Linked DNA regions of Homo sapiens: region 2 is linked to region 1. The links are contacts of gene promoters, found by promoter capture Hi-C in blood cells and fetal thymus (Javierre and others, 2016). All regions are on one chromosome and are shown on one strand. Each heading gives the region's core, a stretch centred on a gene start or on the middle of the fragment in contact. The rest is flanking DNA. Distances are from core to core; before and after follow the strand shown.

The links. Contacts are between HindIII fragments. The CHiCAGO score rates a contact against its expected background, and 5 or more counts as called.
Region 2: the fragment with the promoter of ZNF543 here is called in contact with the fragment with the promoter of ZNF446 in region 1 in 1 of 17 cell types (fetal thymus); the score reaches 5.4 in fetal thymus.

What each region holds. Positions count from the first base shown.
Region 1 is chr19:58,475,096-58,479,456 of GRCh38, reverse strand. It overlaps ZNF446 (zinc finger protein 446), which reads right to left and starts at 3,105. Exons shown (of 7, transcript NM_017908.4): 1 at 2,953-3,105; 2 at 1,897-2,278; 3 at 1,631-1,820; 4 at 1,276-1,370. The coding sequence starts at 2,238. ZNF324 (zinc finger protein 324) reads right to left here. Exons shown (of 4, transcript NM_014347.3): 4 at 4,021-4,361. RefSeq lists enhancers at 2,847-3,046, 3,201-3,495, 3,317-3,566, 3,807-3,866, 3,927-4,016. The HindIII fragment of the contact is 6,419 bases long and covers 2,413-4,361 here.
Region 2 is chr19:57,317,975-57,322,335 of GRCh38, reverse strand. It overlaps ZNF543 (zinc finger protein 543), which reads right to left and starts at 1,864. Exons shown (of 4, transcript NM_213598.4): 1 at 1,465-1,864. The coding sequence starts at 1,482. RefSeq lists enhancers at 1,766-1,915, 1,926-2,045, 2,971-3,488. The HindIII fragment of the contact is 3,609 bases long and covers 877-4,361 here.

The DNA of each region.
Region 1 (4,361 bases), core at 1,856-4,355:
TGCTGCTGCCAGCACTCATCCCCCTCTACTACACCATCCTGCTCAGAGGGCAGGTTTGGCAGCATCACAGGGACCTGAGTGACTTTATCGAGGAATGAACTCCCTGATTGGGGGTCAGCCCTCCTTGCTGCCTGAGTCCCATCATCTGGGGCTTTGCTGGGTTGGGAAAAATAATCCTGAGGGACAAGCTGTGGCAAGTCCAGGGGCAGGAAGGCGGCAGCTGTGAGGAGCCACAGCTAGAGATGGTGCTGGCTGGAGGTGAGGACACTGGGAAGTGCAGCCTACCCACCCTGCCTCACTTTCTGACTGTGCCATGGGGCTGTGGAGGGAGCCTGGAAGGACTTCTTAGCCTCGAAACACATCTCAACCAGCAATGTTGCTGCTGAAGCTCCCCAGTGGAGTTGTTAGAGGAGCCGGGAGAGGAAAAGACCTTGCTACCCACACTTGGGAACCAAGCGATCCAGGTAGAAGAGGCCTCAAGCTGAGCTTCCAGGCCTAACAGGTGGCCTCTGAAGAAACCCCTAGGAGAGAAGGGACTTCGGGCATTTCCCAGGGAGAGTGTCTCCATCTGGTCTCAGGTGTGGGGGGAGTCCTGCCACAGCTGGTCATCTTCTCCCCTCCCCAGCTACACACAAAAGTTCAAATCCCCAGGTCTGGCTCAGGACCTCTGGGAGCAGCAAACCTCCCAGCTGACTTCTCTGGAGGTGAGGAAGCCAAGCCCACTAGTTCCAGCCACTCTAAACTGGGTTTCCATGGCTTGAGGCCCAAATCCTTTTTTTTTTTTTTGTTTTTGACACACAATTTTGCTCTTGTTGACCAGGCTGGAGCGCAGTGGCACAATCTCGGCTCACTGCATCCTCTGCCTCCTGGGTTCAAGCAATTGTCCTGCCTCACCCTCCCTAGTAGCTGGGATTACAGGCGCCTGCCACCACTTCTGGCTAATTTTTGTATCTTTAGTAGATACAGGGTTTCACCACATTGGTCAGGCTGGTCTCGAGCTCCTGACCTCAGGTGATCCGCTCACCTCAGCCTCCCAAAGTGCTAGGATTACAGGTGTAAGCCACCATGTCCAGCCCCAAATCCTTTTCAATAATAGATCACCAGTCTGTCCCTCTGCCCCAGGTCCTGTGGAGGGGTACAGCTTTTACAGACTCCACTTCTGGGAAGCAAAGAGCCACTAGTCAAGGAGCCTGGAAAACCACCAGGCAGAGGGCAGCCATGGGGACAGTCCCTTCTCACACCTGGGGCCTATACTTCCCACTTGGGGCTGCTCACCTGAATCCTGGGTGGGTGGAAGGATGTGGAGGCTGGTTCTTGGTGTCCATGGTTCCCCTCAGGGGACTGTGCTGCAAGTGGAGGGCTGGAGGGTGCTGAAAAGTGGGGCAGATGGAAGGGTGGTGTCAGGGGCTGCCCACATGAGCCATGGCAGATGAGGAGCTCCTCTGCTGTGTGACATGGCACGTAGCCAGCCCTTGGCTCCTGCCTCCCAGGTCCCCATCCCAGACAGGGACATCCACATTCACTTCAGGAGTCCCAGCCTTGACACACCTCTCCTGGGACTCCCACCCTAGCCAGGAATGTCCACACTTCCTCCAGGAGTCCCTCATCTCTGGTGGGACCCCAACCTCACCCACTTCCTGTCCATCGACATTGGGCTCCTCCTTCACACTGCAGCTGAGCTGGACAGACCCCTCTATTCTGGTGTCCTGGGGACCTTCCCCAGGGGACTCCACTGTCCCTGAGGGGTGGGGGCTCCCAAGTGGTTCCTCTGTCTTCTGGGCTGCAGGGAGCACCTCCTGCTTCAGGACATGGGCTGTGATCTGAGGAGAAGAGGTAGGTCACAATGGCTCTAGCCAGGGTCTATCCCTCCAAGAAGCTGATGCCAGCCACACTCACCCAGCCCAACAGTTGCCCAGGGTCATGCTGCAGTCCTTCGACTAGGGCAGCGGCCTCCTCAGGACTGCCTGGCCGCTGACCGCGCACCCAGGCCTGGATCTCGGGAGGCAGTGTGCCCAGGAACTGCTCCAGCACCAGCATCTCCAGCATCTGCTCCTTGGAGTGTGCCTCAGGCTGCAGCCACTGGCAACACAGCTCACGCAGCCGGGCCAGGGCTTCTCGGGGACCTGCCACCTCCTGGTAGCAGAACCCTCGGAAGCGGAGGCGGGCAGTCTCAGGCTCCTCAAGGGTGGTCTCTGGGTCCATGACGGGCAGGCATGGGGGACCCAGAGGGGATGGCATTCTTGCTCAAGGGGGTGGTCTTGGAATCGTCAAGATGGGCCTACAGAAAAGGAAGGGTCGGAATGTCAGCCAAGAGAATCTGGCCAGGGGAAGGCAGACACCAGGCTCAGCCCAGGGGGCTGAGACCAGGACCAAGTGTACTCTGAGGCCAGAAGAGATAAGGCCAAGAAAGCTTCATGGAAGGAGGAGGGTCACAGGACCCAAACAATGATGGCAAATGAGAGCAGGAGGAAGCCTCAGGGACAAATGCTTGGACGCAAGGTGTCCAGGGAGCTTCCTGGAAATTGCAAACAGTTGGGTCCAGCAGGGGACTGCTGGGAGATGACGCTAAAGAGGTGGAGAAAGACAGTCATCACAGAGTTCCAGCGCCAGGCTGAGGAGCCACAGTGTCTAGCCGAGGTGCGAGGAGAGTGGACCAGGGTGGGCGGGTAGAAGGTGGGGCCAGGCTGTAATGTACGGGGACGAGTCGCCCTCCACAATCTCGGGGAGGTTGACTGGGTGGGACCTCCTTTAGGAATGGCTCTGGGGAGGGGGCACGTGGACATCGTGCTCGCTGACCACAGCGAGCCGTGGGCGACTCACACTGCCGGGGCCCGTGCATGTGAAAACGAAAAGCAAAGGCCAAGAAAAACGGGGCCAAAGCTCCACGTTGCGCGGAGTCGAGGGATGGCCACAGCATCCCGGCCCTGAAGGTCTGCAGTGAAAGACGCCCACCTGGACGGGCCTGAGAGACCAGGCCTGACACCCGGCCTATCCGAGGGATGCTCGAACTTCGGGATCTGTCCCCAAAAGGGGAAGGCAAGAGGGAGGCGTTCCAAGAGGACTTGCCAGGCCCGGCCCCCCGGAACGGCGTTGAGGGTAGGAAAGGCCTGAGCGAAGGCTGAGGTGACGCGCGCGGCCTGTCGGGAAGTGGGCGGGCCCTCCAGGGCGCCGACAGCAGGAGCCGTTCAGGCCCCAGAGGGCGACCCCAAGCCCTCCCACGGGGTGGAAAGGCTGCGCCCACTCTGGCAGCCTGCGCTCACCTCAACCCGGAGCGGTTGCTTGGAGGCCGCTTCCCGGATGTGGCGCCGCACAACGCGGGGCGCCTCAGCCGGGTGTTGCCCCGGCGACGCCGCGCTGACCAATCTCTCGCCTGCACCGAAGGCACCGCCCATGCCCTTTGAACTACATTTCCCATGAGCATCAGCAAGACAGGCGCGACCGTGACCCGCTGACCCGCATTTGCAGCAGCCTCTGACGCCTGAGAGGCGCTCTGTTCCTCTAGGAGGTACGGCAGAGTCCCAGGGTTATATGGTCTCCCTCCGCTCTGAGAGCAGCTCTTCCCGGGTTATAAACTTGCGCGTCTGTACAGTGGGCCGGTTTCTATTGGCAGGTGAGGGGAGGGGGTTTTGCCCAATCAGAGGTGGCGCTTGCTTGGCCCCGCCGCCCCCACGCCATTCCCCGGGCCAGCCCCTAGATAACGCTAGGGCATATCCGCCCGCCTCCAGCTGTTCCCGTGGCAACGTTCAGGAGCGTTGCCTCGACTTCCGAAGAGGCTGGAAGTGGCGGCCCAGTGGTTTCCTAGGTCGAGTAGTTCGCTGGGACTCGCTTCCAAGTGGACCCGGGAGAGGCGGTGGTGTAGAAGACCACCCTGAGCCTGGGCTTTCTCCCGCCAGGAGGGTGCGAGGGCCATCTTTGACCTCTGTTAAGCGCCCTAAGGAGGTACCGACGGTTGTGACCGCAGTCTCTGACGTCTTCAGATGTCAGTCCTACAAAGTCGGGGGTGGAGGTTTCCCTCCAGGCTGATCGGACATGCTCAACCGTTTATTTACCTTTGAATTTGGGGAGCAGAACTAGCCAGGGTGACACTAGTTTCTCCCAATAAGCAGTGTTACAGTTTTCTAAATCTGTGGGGTCAGTTTTGCTTCCACACTTAAAAGTGGCCGAGCCATTACTTAGTCAGTCCTAAATTACACCGCCTGTTTTGGTTTCTTTGGATACCTGGGAATCCCTGCTGCCTGCTCTGGATGAAGAGCAGTGGTCTTGATCACCGATTGGAAGCACCGAGCATGTGCGTGGATGAGACTTGTCAACTCGGAGCTTTCCAACGGCCTCCTCAGGTTGTTTTTGGGGATGAGGTGCTT
Region 2 (4,361 bases), core at 615-3,114, 1.2 Mb after region 1:
TCATAATCACCTACCTCACAGAAGAGTCACCTGAGGTGGTGGCACCTGCCTCAAAAGTGGCAGGGCCTGGACCTGCATCTGCTGCCTCGGACACTTCTGGGCCTCACAGATGCCCATTCTCATAGGAAGAATCCACAACGAGCTATCACTACCTTTTCCTGTTTGAGTCCTACCAACAAGTATCCCTGAGGTCAGGATACTTCAGGAGCAAGGAACAAGAGTCACAGAGGACACAGCAGGTTGTAGCCATGAGAACATGGGCCCCTGACTGGCTATGTCTGTCCTGGCTAAGGAGGAAGGCACATCTAGCAAAAGACCACAAAATCTTGTGTCCCAAGACATGTGTCAGCTGGTATAGGAGAAAACCACTCAGGAAACCACTGTGGAAGCCACACGGGTCCCCTGCGGACTCCTTAAACAACCAATAAACCATTTTTTTTTAGTCCACACAGTTCCACCAGCATGAAATGCCATGACTCCTCATGTCCAAGACCACCTGCTAGAAGGAAGCCTGCTCAACTTGCAAAGTTTACTTTAGGTGTCACCCCCAGGCCTCCCTAACCATTGCGGGCAAAGAAGAGGGTAAAAACACAGGCTGTGATGGTAGACACACCAGTTGTTAGTTTCTGATACTTAAGAGCTACAGTGATGTAAGGCAGGTAATTGAACCTATGTGAGCCTCCAGCTGCTCTTGTGTAAAACAGTGAGGACAAGAGAACCTAATTCTAAGGAGTTCAGGATTAAAGGAGCTGAGGGTTAAATAATGCCTGCCAATCAGCCCACAGCAAGGACTCTTTATGATCAGCTGTCACTCTTTGCAATTATTTCGTTTCTCTTTGTTCACATAACATCCTAGACCAACTCAAACGGCAAGCTTCTTTAATATCGTCAGATTCTCTATACAAAAATGCCACACATTGCCAAAAATGGGCAAGTGCGTAAGGCGCCACTTTAGCCGGAATTGCCAAGAAAGCCACCTCCAAATAGGTGACATCTGGACAGAGGCCAGAAAGATATGAGAGGGAGGCCCTGCGAAGTTATAGGGGCAGTGTTCAAGGCAAAGGGAAGTGCAAAGAGAAAGCCTGGAAAAAGGAAGAAGACTGCACGGTCAGGTTGGTGGCTCTGAAGAGCAAAGGACAAGGGAAAAATGGAGAGACAAGGTCAGGGGTGGTTGGCCAGGTGGATGGGGTAGGGGCTGGCAGGCAACAGAGGAGGTTGGATTTAAGGGAAGTGTGATGAGATCCATGAAGGAAGCATCATTCATCCTTCTACCAAGGACTGAGCACCTGTCGGAGGCCAACACTATTGCAGGACTGCGGATAAAGGAAATGACAAGCTACGGCCACTTCTCTTAAATAAACGACGGCGACAAAGAAACATCCTGTGGCTGTCTTGGCTTCTGCCTGCCCACGAGGCCTCCAGAAGTAGCAGAGCAGCAGCAAGGCCAAAACCTCGTCCACTCACCTGCGCCGAGGCTGCCATCCTGAGACCCTGCAGCCCTAGCGGGGCCCGGGAATGCCGCGGCTCAGCCGACCCCCAGCCCTTCTCTGTCCTGGGCGGGGCGACCTCGGCTGACTTTCGCACTCGGAGCCTCAGTTTCCCCAGAGAAAAATGCGCACAAAGCGGGCGCAGCGTCGGGGCTGAGGAGACGGAGGGCGGCTGCGGAGGCCTAGGCCTCGGCAGGCGCCGGTGGAACACCCCGTTAGGGAAGAAGCGGGGCGTCAGGCTCCCGCCAAGATGCGGAGAAGGCGCGTAACAGCCTCATTACCCTCCCCTGCTCAGGCCGCTGGACGCGCCTACCCAGCGGTCCAGGCCCCACACTGTTCCAGGGCCAATCCTGCTCACGGAGATGACGTCACGCGACGAAGCGGAAGTCCCACCTCCGCCGCCCTGGCCCGCAGAAATCGCCCGTGTCCTGGCCCGTCATTGGCCTAGAGTCCGCGGCCGACGCAAGGGGTGGTGCCTTCTGAGTAAGGCAGTTTTTCCCTCACATCTACCGGGTGTGGGAACTCACCAAGCGCAGCCGACTCCATTTAAGTGCGCACAAGGACCCCCGCGTCGTCTTAGGGCCGCCGCTTTACTATGGGCACAAGTCGGAGGGTCGAAAGGTCCTTTCTAGCTTAGGAAAATTGAGGTCAGGAGGCGGGGATATTCGCCCCGATTGAGATCATGGGCTGGGCCCAGAGCTTCTGGCTCACTTCCCTTATTTTAGGGAGGTAGCTCATATATGTAATCTCAGTGCTTTGGGATGCCAACACAAAATAATTGCTGAGGTCAGGAGTTTGAGACCACCCTGGGCAATATAGTAAGATGTTATATCTACCAAAAAAAAAAAAAAGAGCAAGGCATGATGGTGTACACCTGTAGTCCTAGACACTGGGAGGCTGAAGCAAGAGGATTGCTTGAGCCCAGGAATTTGAGGTTATAATGAGATATGATGAGAGAAAACACACACACATAAACACACTGAGATGCCATCTTATACTGGTCAGAGTGGCTATTATTAAAAAGTAAAAAACCAACAGATGTTGGTATGGATGCAAGGAAAAGGGAACGCTTATATGCTATTGGTGGGAATGTAAATTAGTACAACCTCTATGGAAAACAGTATGGAGATTTATCAAAGAACTGAAAATAGAACTGCCATTTGATCTGGCAATTCCACTATTGGGTATTTACTTAAAGGAAAATAAACCACTATATCAAAAAGATGCCTGTACTTACATGCTTACTGTAGCACTATTCACAGTAGCAAAGTCATAGAATCAACCTAAGTGTCCATCGACAGATGATTGGATAAAGAAAATGCGATATATATATGTATATATATGTATGTATATGTATATATGTATATATATGTATGTATATGTATATATGTATGTATATGTATATATATGTATATATGTATGTATATGTATATATATGTATATATGTATGTATATGTATATATATGTGTATATATGTATGTATATGTATATATATGTATATATATGTATGTATATGTATATATATGTATGTATATGTATATATATGTATATATATGTATGTATATGTATATATATGTATATATATGTATGTATATGTATATATGTATATATGTATGTATATGTATATATATGTATATATATGTATGTATATGTATATATGTGTATATATATATACACTCCATGGAATACTACTCAGTCATTAAAAAAAATCATGGCTTTTGCAGCAATATGGCTGGAACTGGGGGGCCATTCTCTTAAGTGAAATAATTCAGAAACAAAGTCAAATACTGCATGTTATCACTTATAAGTGGTAGCTAAATGATGTATACATATGGAAATAGTGGAATAATAGACACTGGAGATTCAAAAAGGTGGGAGGCATTGCCGGGGACCCCTCACACCATGGTGCTTCACTCACCTACACCACAGCCATGCCACCCCATTGGCACACACTTGCAGGTAGCCCCCCTCTACTGCCCAAGTGGTGCACACTTGCCTGTGGCCTCCCCATCCCCCAGCCACAGTGCACTCTCTGCAGTCCCCACAATGCTCTGCTGGAGCACTTTTGCCAGCAGACTGAGAACACCTCAGCCCCTCTAGCACAGCAGGTGCTTCACCCCAAGCAGCCAGAGAACAAAGCCAAGGGCTTAATCCCCTCTACCCAGGTTTACAGCATGCAGCTCAGGAGTGCTCAGCTGAGCCTTGGCCTGTGAAAGCACCCATAATTGAAACCATGAAACTAAACCCAACTTATACCACAGTAAAACTCCCAAGGGCATCAAATAATATAAAAGCAGAAAGCCCCATCCAAAGGAGAGCAACTTCAAAGATTCAAGGAACATCAGCCCACACATATGAGAAAGAACCAGTGCAAGATTTCTGGCAACTCTAAAGGTCTCCAAACGACTGCACTAGCTCCCTAGTGATGGTTTGGAACCATGCTTAAATGGCTGAAATGACTTAGAATTCAGAGTCTGGATGGCAAGGAAGGAAAAATCCAAGGAAACCAATAATGCAATCCAAGAGTTTAAATATAATATTACCATATTAACAAAGAACCAAAATGGGCTGGGCACGGTGGCTCACGTCTGTAATCCCAGCACTTTGGGAGGCTGATGCGGGTGGATCACTTGAGGTCAGGAGTTCGAAACCAGCCTGACCAACATGGTGAAACCCTATCTCTACTATAAATACAGAAATTAGCTGGGTGTGCTGGCAGGCACCTGTAATCCCAGCTACTCGGGAGGCTGAGGCACAAGAGTCCCTTGGATCCAGGAGATGGAGGTTGCAGTGAGCCAAGATCATGCCATTGCACTCCAGCCTGTGCAACAGAGCAAGACTCCGTCTCAAAAAAAAAAAAAAAAAAAAAAAAAG